Regions from separate parts of the Homo sapiens genome. Here regions 2 and 3 are each linked to region 1. The links are contacts of gene promoters, found by promoter capture Hi-C in blood cells and fetal thymus (Javierre and others, 2016). All regions are on one chromosome and are shown on one strand. The core of a region is centred on a gene start or on the middle of the fragment in contact, and the rest is flanking DNA. Distances in the headings are between cores, read along the strand shown. Region 1 holds the start of ZFY (zinc finger protein Y-linked). Region 2 has its middle 25 kb from the start of SRY. Region 3 has its middle 12 kb from the start of RPS4Y1.

Evidence for each region. Contacts are between HindIII fragments. The CHiCAGO score rates a contact against its expected background, and 5 or more counts as called.
Region 2: a fragment that was not itself captured here is called in contact with the fragment with the promoter of ZFY in region 1 in 11 of 17 cell types (M0 macrophages, M2 macrophages, naive CD4 T cells and 8 more); the score reaches 10.5 in M0 macrophages.
Region 3: a fragment that was not itself captured here is called in contact with the fragment with the promoter of ZFY in region 1 in 3 of 17 cell types (total CD8 T cells, naive CD8 T cells and naive CD4 T cells); the score reaches 7.9 in total CD8 T cells.

What each region holds. Positions count from the first base shown.
Region 1 is chrY:2,933,049-2,937,261 of GRCh38, forward strand. ZFY (zinc finger protein Y-linked) reads left to right here and starts at 2,333. Exons shown (of 8, transcript NM_003411.4): 1 at 2,333-2,721. The HindIII fragment of the contact is 5,223 bases long and covers 1-4,213 here.
Region 2 is chrY:2,810,360-2,814,572 of GRCh38, forward strand. No RefSeq gene overlaps it. Among named protein-coding and RNA genes, the nearest start is that of SRY, 25 kb to the left of the region's middle. The HindIII fragment of the contact is 1,060 bases long and covers 1,991-3,050 here.
Region 3 is chrY:2,827,747-2,831,959 of GRCh38, forward strand. It overlaps the pseudogene TOMM22P2. Among named protein-coding and RNA genes, the nearest start is that of RPS4Y1, 12 kb to the right of the region's middle. The HindIII fragment of the contact is 390 bases long and covers 1,938-2,327 here.

The DNA of each region.
Region 1 (4,213 bases), core at 1,083-3,582:
AGACTTTTCTTATATGACAACTAAAATTAGACCATCCTTTCCTTGTCTCTCACCAAAAGTTAACATTATGAATGAAAAGTAATGTCAAAAGCTGTTTAGTTTATCTGAACTACCTCTGATCTTTCAGATTAGGAAACATCTTTTTTCCTTTATATTCCTTAGCTGTTCTTTCTGAAGTGCTTTATATATTGGTAATTTTTTATAATAATACTAGGATTTTTGATAAGCATGTAAGTATTAACAATAATGTTTACTTTGTTTTTTGTGTTCTGACCATGTTGCTTACAGTTGACATGAGACCCCATTCTTGACATACCATAAGGACATTAAATGAAGGCCTTTGGAAAATATTTGATTTACAGCTGTAATCCCAGTGCTTTGGGAGGCCATGGCTGTTACACTGAACTAGAGAGTTCAAGGCTGAGTGAGCTACGAAGGTGCCACTGCACTCCAGCCTGCGTGGCAGAGCCAGGTACCATCTCTAAAAACTTGAACGTTATCAGTATTTTGAAATTATGTTAATTACATATGAAATTAGGCTAGTTTTTTTTACTGAAAAACATAATGTAAAAATACTTTTCTTTCCTCAAAATACATTGTCTTAACTTGATGAAAATTTCTCAAACAAGATTTTATTTATTTAAATACAAGATCTTGCTCTGTCATAAAGGCTGGAGTGTGGTATCACAATCATAGCCCAAACAAATGGGCTTAAGCCTCCCATAGCTGGGACTACAGGCGTGTTCCACCACACCCAGCACTTTTCAATTTTTTTGTACAGATGGATCGCCCTATTTTCCAGGCTTGTCTCCAACTATCAGTTGAGCACAAGCTGATTTTATCTCAGCCTTCCAAAGTGTTTTGGAATTACAGGGGTGAGCCGCCTCTCATTTATCATTTTTGAAACAAAAGGTAACGACTTGAGAAAACAAGGTCAAACCAATGGTTTGAAAAGAGAATTGCTATCCAGCACTTAACTCATTATATCAACTATGTACCACTGGTTTTCCTTTCGTAAAGCATTTTATGATTTTTAGGTTTCTCAGTTAAGGACAAGATGATTTCTGAGTTTTAAAAATAGGTATGCTAGAAAACTGAAATACCTGGCCTCTACATTTAGAGATTACCGGCTCTGGCCCACAGGCTGCAGTGCAGTGGCTTGATCACAGCTGTCCGCCTGTATCTGCTGGCCTCAAGCGATACTCCAGCCTTGTCCTCCCAAAGCGCTCAGAGGTGAGCGACCGCGATAGGCATGTTTAACTTTTTAGTAGCAACTTTTAAACACAGTTTGGGTACCTAGTTTAATGGGAAATTAGAGTGCATTAAAACGTAAAGTAATGAAAACGCACAATACACGTTTTTGGAGTTCATCAGTACTATCTGTTTAATCAAATGCATTTTCCTCTCAGTCTCTAAAGCCTTTTTAAACTTTAAGAGGATAAATAATTTTGTAAGAAGACAATCCCAAAACCAATTGTTAGTTTACATTTATTAAAGGGTGTGCATAATTCATTGTTCATGAGACAATTACACAAAACTGACATTTCAAGGATGCCAAAAGATGAAACACTGCCATAAAGAACACACACTAGACATTACAAATCTTGGTCAAAATACCTACGTTAACGCAAAAAAAAAAATCAATTGGCTCAGTAATTGATTAGGATAATCCTCCCCTCCTCTTGCCTGTACACTGTGGCAAGTCCATTTACTTTCTTTTTTTTTTTTTTTAAAGCCAACAAAGGAGACAGTGGGGAATGCTATATGTCTGTATCTGCTTTCCTCCTCAACCCTAGGAATAAAGTAAACACGTTTACTGAGGGCGGGGGTCTAAGGGCCTGCAACAATGAGATCTGTCGCCTTGGCTAGGACTGGCGCCGAGAGGCGATAGGTCTCGGGAGAGCCTGGCGCAGGGTGTGGGAGATTAGGAATCCCAGGTCCACCGGAGATGGCAGGGGGTGGCCTGGCCCGGTGCGGGGCCGCTTGCCTGCACGCAACCAACTAAGGCGGTGGTGCGCAAGTAGTGGTGACGGCGGGCGCGCGGAGAAAAGGAACGTTGTGACGGAAACTCCAGCTGCCGGAGACCCCACCGCAGTGAGGTCACTGGACTCCCCGGACTCGGGGCGTGACCGGCGCCGACCCGGGGCGCCGAGAGGCCCACCGGGCGGAGGGGGCCCAACTACCATCCCGCATTTTCCTGGGTCTCTCTCCCGGGCGGTGACGTGACGTGCTGACGGCGGGCCCGTGCCGGGGAGCTGGGCCGCTTTTTGTCAGCTCCGAACTCGGCCCCTCCTCCCTCCCTCCGCCCGCCCTACCAGCCGGAGCCCGGCCCAGTGCTCCAGAGAAAGGCCGTCCTGCAGCACCCGCCGCTGTCGCCGACCGCCCGCACATCCGTCGGGTGAGTCCCGCGTGCCCCCGCGGCCGCGGGGCCTAGTGCGCGCGCAGTAACCTGTTTGTGGCCTGGTCGGCGTCCCGTAGGGCGCCCTCCCGCGCTAGGCCGGCCGGCGTGGCGCTCGGCGCCGAACAGGCCCCGAGGAGGCCGCAGTTAGGCCTAGTGATTATCCAGTTGCCCTGAGCGGCTGCGGAGGTGCGCTCCATAAGCGGGCAGGGTGGGAAAAGTTCGCCCGTTTGTCCGGAAGGCAGTTGATGGACCTGGGGTCGACACCACTGCGGACGCAGGGCACGGCACGGGGGCGAGAAGGCGAAGGCTGCAGGCGTGAGGTGAAGGCCGGAGGCCTGCTGGGCCTATTTTCGCTATGTAAATGTCCGCGAAGGGGAGGAGGGACGGGGGGGCAAGATGGCGGCTGCTAGGCGCCTGCTGCTGGGGAGTATTGAGAGTGTTGTCGGGAGGCGGAGCCGCCATCTTGAAGGCGGTATCTGGAAAAAAAATTCGGTTATGATCCTTGAGGCGGGGATGGGGAAAAGGACGGCGGCGGCGGCGGCAGCGCAGCCTCCGGCGCGACGGCGTGTCTGCGCAACAGGGCGTGCTCGTTCCCTTGGCGGCCCTTGCCTTTGTCGCCATATGCGCGCGTACGTTCCAGACGCCTGCGGCAGCGCCACCTTTCGGCCTTCCCCTCACAGCCCATCCTTGGCTGGGTGCAGTGTCGGCTACGCTTTAGGTGACATGCCGCAGGCGTCCGTTCGGGCGCCGGGGTCATTTCGCCCCTCAGCGCTCCCGGCTCTGTGCCCTTCCGAGAGTCTACAGCCACCCGTTTCAGCAGGTGGCAATTCGGGCATCTAGGCTCACGAGAGCACATAAATTCCAGAAAATTTTATTTTCCCCTAATTAAAGTCATTATGTGGCTGTTCGGGGACCTTCGATGCGCTTATTTTTCAACCATCATTGCCTCTTCGAGGATCTGCAAAATAGAACTGGAATTTATTATGAAAAAGTTATTAGGCACTCGTCCAATAGACAGTACAGTACAAATTATACAGCACGAGGGCAGAGGAATAAAATTTCCCCAAGGCGACTTTTCCCATTTATGTGGAAACACTTTTTTGATGAGCTGTATTTAAACGAGCGAGCTTTTTTTTAGTCCGTGTACTTTTTTTGAGTAAGAGATGGAAAATAGGCAGAAGAGGTATTTTTCTTTTTGAAAGACAATTCATGCATTACTTGTAGGTTCATATACCCATGATGACATTGAGATTTTATTTGAAATTTCTTATACAGTTTCATCTTCAAAATACTTTTGTTAGCATTTTGTACAACTTTGCTGGAAAATTGGAGCACAGTAATGTGAGCGTTGGACAGTGCTAGGTGCTAAGAAAGATTTAAAAGGCTCTTAATGCAGAACGTGACTGCAAAAAGTTTGCTGCGGGCATTTCACAGGAAGGCGAGGTTTCAGTTTGCAAAATTGGGAATCCTGAAGTAGATGGGGTTTAGCTAGGGTGAGGAATGGGAGTAGGAGAGGTCATTACAAGAATGAAATGTCTGTAGAAGATGCAAATATTTACGGTTTTGCTGGAGTGGATAATATAGATAGGAAAGGGATTCAAATTTAGGCTGTAAAAAGTAGATTTTGAAATACATTGGTGGCACACCTCAGTTTATGCTGAGCTCTGGCTGCAGCTGTTACAAAAGTTTAAAGGTTGAGAAGGATTGAGAGCTAGTATAAATTGATAAGTGTTTTCGTTACTGGATGGATGATCAAGAAGGTAGCTGTTTTTTGGCCAGGTGCGGTGACTCACGCCTGTAATCCCACCACTT
Region 2 (4,213 bases), core at 1,271-3,770, 120 kb before region 1:
AATTTGATCTTCAATCACTGATACCCTTCCTTCCACTTGATCGAATCAGCTACTGAAGCTTGTGCATGTGTCACATATTTTTCGTGCCATGGTTTTTAGCTCCTTCAGGTCATTTAAGCTATTCTCTACACTGTTTGTTCTAGTTAGCCATTTGTCTAATCTTTTTTCAAGGTTTTTAGCTTCCTTGCGATGGGTTCGAATATCCTCCTTTAGCTCAGAGAAGTTTGTTATTACTAACCTTCTGAAGCCTACTTCTGTCAACTCATCAAAGTCATTCTCTGTGCAGCTTTGTTCCATCACTGGTAAGGAGCTGCAATCCTTTGGAGGAGAAGAGGCACTCTGGTTTTTAGAATTTTTGGCTTTTCTGCTCTGGTTTCTCCCTGTCTTTGTGGTTTTATCTACCTTTGGTCTTTGATGTTGGTGACCTAGAGATGGGGTTTTAGTGTGGATGTCCTTTTTGTTGATGTTGATGCTATTCCTTTCTGTTTGTTAGTTTTCCTTCTAACAGTCAGGTCCCTCAGCTGCAGGTCTGTTGGAGTTTCCTGGAGGTTCACTCCAGACCCTGTTTCCCTGGGTATCACCAGCAGAGACTGCAGAACAGCAAATATTGCAGGACAGCAAATATTGCTGCCTGATCCTTCCTCTGGAAGCTTCATCCCAGAGGGTCTTCTGCCTGTATGAGGTGTCAGTCAGCCCCTAAGGGGAGGTTTCTCCCAGTTAGGCTACATGGGGTTCAGGGACCCACTTGAGGAGGCAGTCTGTCCATTCTCAGAGCTCAAACACTATGCTGGGAGAACCACTGCTCTCTTCAGAGCTTTCAGACAGGGACGTTTAAGACTGAAGAATTTTCTGCTGCCTTTTGCTCAGCTATGACCTGCCCTGAGGTGGGGTCTACAGAGGCAGCAGGCCTTGCAGAGCTGAGGTGGGCTCTGCCCAGTTCAAGCTTCCCCAGACTCTTTGTTTACCTACTCAAGCCTCAGCAATGGTGGACACACTTCCTGCTGCCAGGCTGCTGCTTGCAGGTAGAACTCAGCCTGCTGCATTAGCAATGAGCAAGGCTCCATGGGCATGGGACCTGCTGAGCCAGGCATGGGATATAATCTGCTGGTATGCCGTTTGCTAAGACTGTTGGAAAAGCACAGTATTTGGGCAGGTGTGTCCCAATTTTCCAGGTACAATCTGTCATGGCTTCCCTTGGCTAGGAAAGGAAATGCGATGCCCCACCCTGCTTCAGCTTACCCTCCATGGGCTGCACCCACTGTCCAACCAGTTCCAATGAGATGAACCAGTTACCTCAGTTGGAAATGCAGAAATCACTCTCTTCTGCATTGATCATGCTGGGAGCTGCAGACCAGAGCTCTTCCTATTCAGCCATTTTGGAATGGACCACACTTGTCTTTTTGATATTTGTTGGCTTAAAGTCTGTTTTATCAGAGACTACAATCGCAACCCCTAGTTTTTTTCTGCTTTCCATTTGCTTGATACATTTTCCTTTATCCTTTTATTCTGAGTAAAGTGTGTACTCTTGAATACAGTACACCGACAGGTCTTGACTCTATCCAGTTTCCCAGGCTGTGTCTTTTAATTGGGTCATTTAGCCCTTTACATTTAAGGCTAATATTGTTATTTGTAAATTTGATCCTGTCATCTTGATGCTAGCTGGTTATTTTGCACACTAGTTGATGCTATTTCTTCACTCTGTCATTGGTCTTTATAATTTCATGTGTTTTGCAGTGGCTGATACTGGTGTTTCCTTTCCATATTTAGTGCTTCCTTTAGGAGCTCTTGTAAGGCAGGCCTGGTGGTGATAAATTCTTCCAGCACTCATATGTCTGAAAAGGATTTTATTTCTCCTTTGATTATGAGGCTTAGTTTGGCCAGATATGAAATTCTGGGTTGAAAATTTTTTTCTTTAAGAATGTTGAGTATTGACCCCTACTCTCTTCTGGCTTGTAGGGTTTCTGCTGAGTATTCCACTGTTAGTCTGATAAGCTTCCCTTTGGAGGTGATCTGACTTTTCTCTCTGCTGCCCTTAACATTTTTTCCTGCATATGGACCTTATAGAATCTGATGATTGTGTGTCTTGGGGTTGATCTTCTTGTAGTATATCTTAATGGTGTTCTCTGTATTTCCTGAATTTGCATGTTGGCTTAGAGTAGCCATGGTTAAAAATCTAATGAAAGTTTATAGTTAACAAGGATATTTGGATATTTCATTTACATATAGCATTTTAAGATAAACACAAGAATAATGACTGATATTAGAGATCTATGAATTTATATAATTTTGAATTTTTTTTTTTTGAGATGGAGTCTCACTCTGTCACCCAGGCTGGAATACAGTGTCACAGTCTTGGCTCACTGCAAGCTCCGCATCCCAGGTTCACACCATTCTCCTGCCTCAGCCTCCTGAGTAGCTGGGACTACAGGCACCTGCCACCACGCCCAGCTAATTTTTTGTATTTTTAGTAAAGATGGGGTTCACCATGTTAGCTAGGATGGTCTTGATCTCCTGACCTTGTGATCCACCCATCTTGGCTTCCCAAAGTTCTGGGATTATAGGCTTGAGCCACCGTGCCCAGCCTAATTTTGAAATATTTATATTAACCCGTAAGTGCAATGAAAGGAAGATCTAGTATTGGTCAGGTGCGCAGGCTCATGCCTGTAATCCCAGTACTTTGGAAGGTCAAGACAGGTGGATCACTTGAGGGTCAGCAGTTCAACACCCGCCTGGCCAACATGGTAAAACCTCATCTCTACTAAAAATACAAAAAGTAGCTGGGTGTGATTGTGGGTGCCTGTAATCCCAGCTAACTTAGGAAGCTGAGGCAGAAGAATCGCCTGAACCCAGGGGGAGAAGGTTGCAGTGAGCCGATATCTTACCACTCTACTCCAGCCTGAGAGACACATTGAGAATACATCTAAAAAAAAAAAAGATCTAGTATTACATATTTCTGTCTCAGTGCAGTTGTGTTGCTGTAAAGGCATATCTGATTCTGTGTAACTTACAAAGAGGTTCATGTAGCTCACAGTTCTATGGGCTATATATGAAGCTTGGAATTAACATCAGCTTCTGGTGACAGCTTCAGGCTGCTTCCACTCATGGAAAGGAAAGGGGAGGCAGCCTCTGAAGAGATTATATGGCCAGAGAGGGAACTAGAGAAATGACAGGGGCAAGGGGAAAGAGAGGGAGGGGCCAGCCTCTTTTTAACCATCAACTCTTGAGGGAGATGATAGAGTGAAAACTGATTCGCTGTCCTCTCCCAGAAAGGGCATTAATCTGTACACAAGGGACCCACCTCCATGACCCAAAGATGATCCATTAGGCTGCACCTCCAGCGTTGGGGATAATATTTCAACAGGAGGTTTGGAGGGTCAAATATTCAAACAATAGCCATTTCTTATGTAATTTATCAAATAGGCCTAATCATCTAATATCTCCAAAAGGTGAGAGATATGTCTTTTGAGTCTTTTCAGGGGCCCAACTGGAAAATTCAAACATTAATTCTAGGTTAAAGGGATTTACATTTAGCATTTGATTTTGGGCAAGTTTGCCAAAGATGTTAAAAGGCACAGAACACTTGATTGAAACAAACTCGTAGGTCACTTAAAAAAAAAAGTAGTCATTTTTTAACCAGAAGGATAATCAAAAAACAAATTTACCAGAGTTAGCCATGGTATCATGGCTATCCACATTATCCACAAAAAATACCAAAACACATTATCTGCGAAAAACACAAAAATTAGCCAGGTGTGGTGTGTGCACCTGTAGTCCCAGTTACTTGGGAGGGTGAGGTGGGAGGACCACATGAACCCTGGAGATGGAGGTTTCAGTGAGTCAAGATCATGCCACCGCATTCCAGCCTGGGCAAGAGAGTGACAATTTGATTCAAAAAATAAATATATAAATAAGCAAGGAAATAAATAAATAAATAACATTGTTGTTGTTGTTTTCTTTTCAACTTTTATTTTAGGTTCAAGGGGTACGTGGGCAAGCTGGTTACATAGGTAAGTTGCATGTCATGGGTATTTTGTGTACAGATAATTTTGTTACTCAGGTAATCAGTGTGATATCTGATAGGTAGTTTTTCAATCCTCCTCAAGTAGGCCCTGGAGTTCTTAATTCATAGCTACCATTTATAAGTGAAGAACATGGGGGTATTTGGTTTACTGTTCCTGTGTTAGTTTGCTAAGGATTTTGGCCTCCAGCTCCA
Region 3 (4,213 bases), core at 883-3,382, 110 kb before region 1:
TCTTTTTTTATTTTATTTTAAAAACAGGATGTTCCTCTGTCACCCAGGCTGGAGTGCAATGGCAGGTCCATAGCTCACTGCAACTTCAAACTCCTGGGCTGAAGCAATCCTCTTGCCTTAGTCTTTCAAAGCACTGGGATTATAGGTGTGAGCCATCATGCCTGCCCATCTCTTTACATTTTCATTTCATGTTAATTTTATGCTATCAAATAACATAAAATGGCTCCATAGATGAAGCCACTTTTGATCTTTCACTCTTTGTGGCTAAGACTATGCATAGGTTTTCCATAGCAGCCTTGTCAATTAGGACCACCTCCTTTATGATCCTGGTTCTTGCTGTCATCTTTGAGACTGAGAAGTTGCAAATGGAACAACAGCAACAATGGCAGCTGCAGCAGACACTTCTCCAGCATTATAGTGCTGTAAGGAGGAATGTGTTCTGTCAGGGGCTCTACATTTACTTTCTGGAAAGACCTAGACTGTGACTGCTGTTTTTTGGGTTGCCATGGTGAGACAATGGCCTTAGTGCCACTCTGATTTACCATCATTTTGGGTTTCCCATCTCAGCACATCATTCATAGGTTATGTTGCAGATTTCTTTTTCTTTCTTTCTTTTTTTTTTTTGAAACGAAGTCTCGCTCTTGTCGCCCAGGCAGGAGTGTAGTGGTGTGATTTCGGCTCATTGCAATATCTACCTCCCCAGTTCAAGCGATTCTCCTGCCTTAGTCTCCTGAGTAGCTGGGATTACATGTGCGTGCCACACGCCCAGCTAATTTTTTTTGTATTTTTAGTAGAGACGGGGTTTCACAATGTTGGTCATGCTGGTCTTGAACTCCTGACCTCATGATCTACCCACCATGGCCTCCCAAAGTGCTGGGATTAGACGTGTGAGCCACCGTGCCTGGCCTGGTTGCAGATTTCTTTCAGCTCTTGTCATTCCAGTTGAAGAGAGACCATTCTAGAGATGGCTGCAGGCAAGCATTTAAAACCTTTGAGAGAACAACAGCACATCAGGGAGAGTATTATCATGACTATTGGGAGGATAATACCAAGAAGTTGGAGTATGCTCTTTACCTAAGGTACCACAAACCAGAACTTAAGATTAAATAGATCAAAGGATAAGCTAGATAAAGAGTCTACATACTTAACTAAGCAGTCTTTTCATTAATCTTCTACCAGTGAATTTTTCCAGTAGGCCATGAGTACCAGCAACTGGAGAGATACTTCTCTGTTCTGCCAATTCTGTGTGAACTCCAAAAGAGAATTTAAAGTTTGTTGCATCCTTTACAGTGGAATTTGCTATACAGCCTATCATGAGCATACATTTGTAATCATTGCTTCTTCTATTTTAAACCATGGAAGAAAAACCTAACAAATGATGCCTTTCAGGAAGAGTGAAGGCCTCCTGGTAATGTTCTCTTTAACCCATGATGTGGGTTAAGAGGAATGAACCAATATTTTGTTTCTGATTGATTATGAGGCAATGTATGTACCATTAAAGTTTCTTACTGACATTGGGCCTTTATCTTGTATCCACCAAAGTATAAAGTTATCCATGTATAAGGCTGGCTGTAAACACATTCACAAATAAAAGTACACCCCATAAGTGCATATAAGAGACCTCCTTTCCATTTCTATTGTTCATAGAGCCATAGCAAGATAAAATTTTCAAAGATAAGTTTCATGATAGTAGAAGTCTTAATCTGTGAACTTTAGAAAAGTTGCTTACATCAAAGACAGCATGCTCTTCTGGGGAGAAACCTCCCTGGTTAGTTTTACCTTAAGGGTTCCAATGGATGTACAGTTCCAAGAGTGTGGAGGGACCCTTCTCAGCTGTGAGATGATAAACCTAAAGTTCAAGGTCCTTAAGTTTTGCTGTAGTGTGGATGGCAAGGTCAGTTTTTCTTTGATGTTCTCAGAAGATCCAAACTGTAAAAAGCTTTCACAGCAAGGCTGCTGTGGTCAGACTGCCTCTCTAGATTCCTTCTCTCTGGGCGTGGCATCTCTAAAAAAAAAAGGCAAGAGCCCCAGTCAGGGGCTTATAGACCAAACCCCCATCACCCTGGGACAGAATACCTGGGGGAAGGGGTAGCTGTGGGCAGCTTCTACAGACTTAAATGTTCCTGCCTGTCAGCTCTGAAGAGAGCAGCGGATCTCCTAGCACAGCGTTTGAGCTCTGCTAAGGGTCAGACTACTGCCTCAAGTGGGTCCCTGACCCCTGTGTATCCTGACTAGGAGACTTCTCCCAGTAGGAGCTGACAGACGCCTCATACAGGAGAGCTCTGGTTGGCATCTCCTGTACGATGGTGGGTATCCCCCTAGAATGAAGCTTCCAGAGGAAAGAACAGGCAGCAACCATTGCTGTTCTGCAGCCTCTGCTGGTGACACCCAGGCAAACAGGGTCTGGAGTGGACCTCCAGCAAACTCCAGCAGGCCTGCAGCAGAGGGGCTGACTGTTAGAAGGAAAACTAACAAACAGAAAGGAATAGCACATCCATTCAGAGACCCCATCAGAAGGTCACCAACATCAAAGACCGAAGGTAGATAAATCCATAAAGATGGGGAGAAACCAGCGCAAAAAGGCTGAAAATTCCGAAAAGCAGAATGCCTCTTCTCCTCCAAAGGAACACAACTCCTCATCCTCAAGGGAAGAAAAATGGGTGGAGAATGAGTTTGATGAATTGACAGAAGTAGGTTTCAGAAGGTGGGTAATAACAAACTCCTCTGAACTAAAGGAGCATGTTCTAACCCAATGCAAGGAAACTAAAAACCTCGAAAAAAGGTTAGAGGAATTGCTAGCTAGAATAACCAGTTTAGAGAAGAACATAAATGACCCGATGGAGCTGAAAAACACAGCCCAAGAACTCTGTGAAGCATACACAAGTATCACTAGCTGAATCAATCAAGAGGAAGAAAGGATATCAGACATGGAAGATCAACTTAATGAAATAAAGATAAAAGACACGATTATAGAAAAAAGAATAAAAAGGAATGAATAAAGCCTCTAAGAAATATGGGACTATGTGAAAAGACCAAATCTACATTTGACTGGTGTACCTGAAAGTGATGGGGGAGAATGGAACCAAGTTGCAAAACACTCTTCAGGATATGATCCAGAAGAACTTCCCCAACCTAGCAAGGCAGGCCAACATTCAAATTCAGGAAATACAGGGAACACCACAAAGATATTCCTTGAGACGAACAACCCCAAGACATGTAATTGTCAGATTCACCAAGGTTGAAATGAAGGAAAACATGTTAAGGGCAGCCAAAGAGAAAGGTCGGGTTATCCACAAAGGGAAGCCCATCAGACTAACAGCAGATCTCTCTGCAGAAATCCTACAAGCCAGAAGAGAGTGGGAGCCAATATTCAACATTCTTTAAAAAAAAAGAATTTTCAACCCAGAATTTCATATCCAGCCAAAGTAAGCTTCATAAATGTAGGAGAAACAAAATCCTTTACAGACAAGCAAATGCTGAGAGATTTTTGTCACCATTAGAACTGCCTTACAAGAGCTCCTAAAGGAAGCACTAAACATGGAAAGGAACAACCAGTACCAGCCCCTGCAAAAACATGCCAATTGTAAAGACCATCAACACTATGAAGAAACTGCATCAACTAATGGACAAAATAACCAGCTAGCATCATAATGCCAGGATCAAATTTACACATAACAATATTAAACTTAAATGTAAATGGGCTAAATGTCCCAATTAAAAGACACAGACTGGCGAATTGGATAAAGACTCAAGACCCGTCGATGTGCTGTATTCATGAGACACATCTCATATGCAAAGACACACGTAGGCTCAAAATAAAGGGATGGAGGAACATACACCAAGCAAATGGAAAGCAAAAAAAGCAGTTTGCAATCCTAGTCTCTGAGAAAACAGACTTTAAACCAACAAAGATCAAAAGAGAAAAAGAACGGCATTACATAACGGGAAAGGGATCAGTGCACGCTAGTCACTTCCACTCAACATTGTGCTAGAGGTTCTAGTTAGGGGAACTGGGAAAGGAAAAGAAATAAAAGTCATATATACTGGAAAGAAAGAAGTAGACCTATCTCTATTTGCAGATGACATCATCTACATAAGAAGTCCTAAATAATCCCTTAAAAAAAACCCACAACTACTAACAAACTAATTAAGCAAGTTTATGTTATACAAGACAAATATAAAGAAATCAGTTGTATTTCTATACATTAGCAAT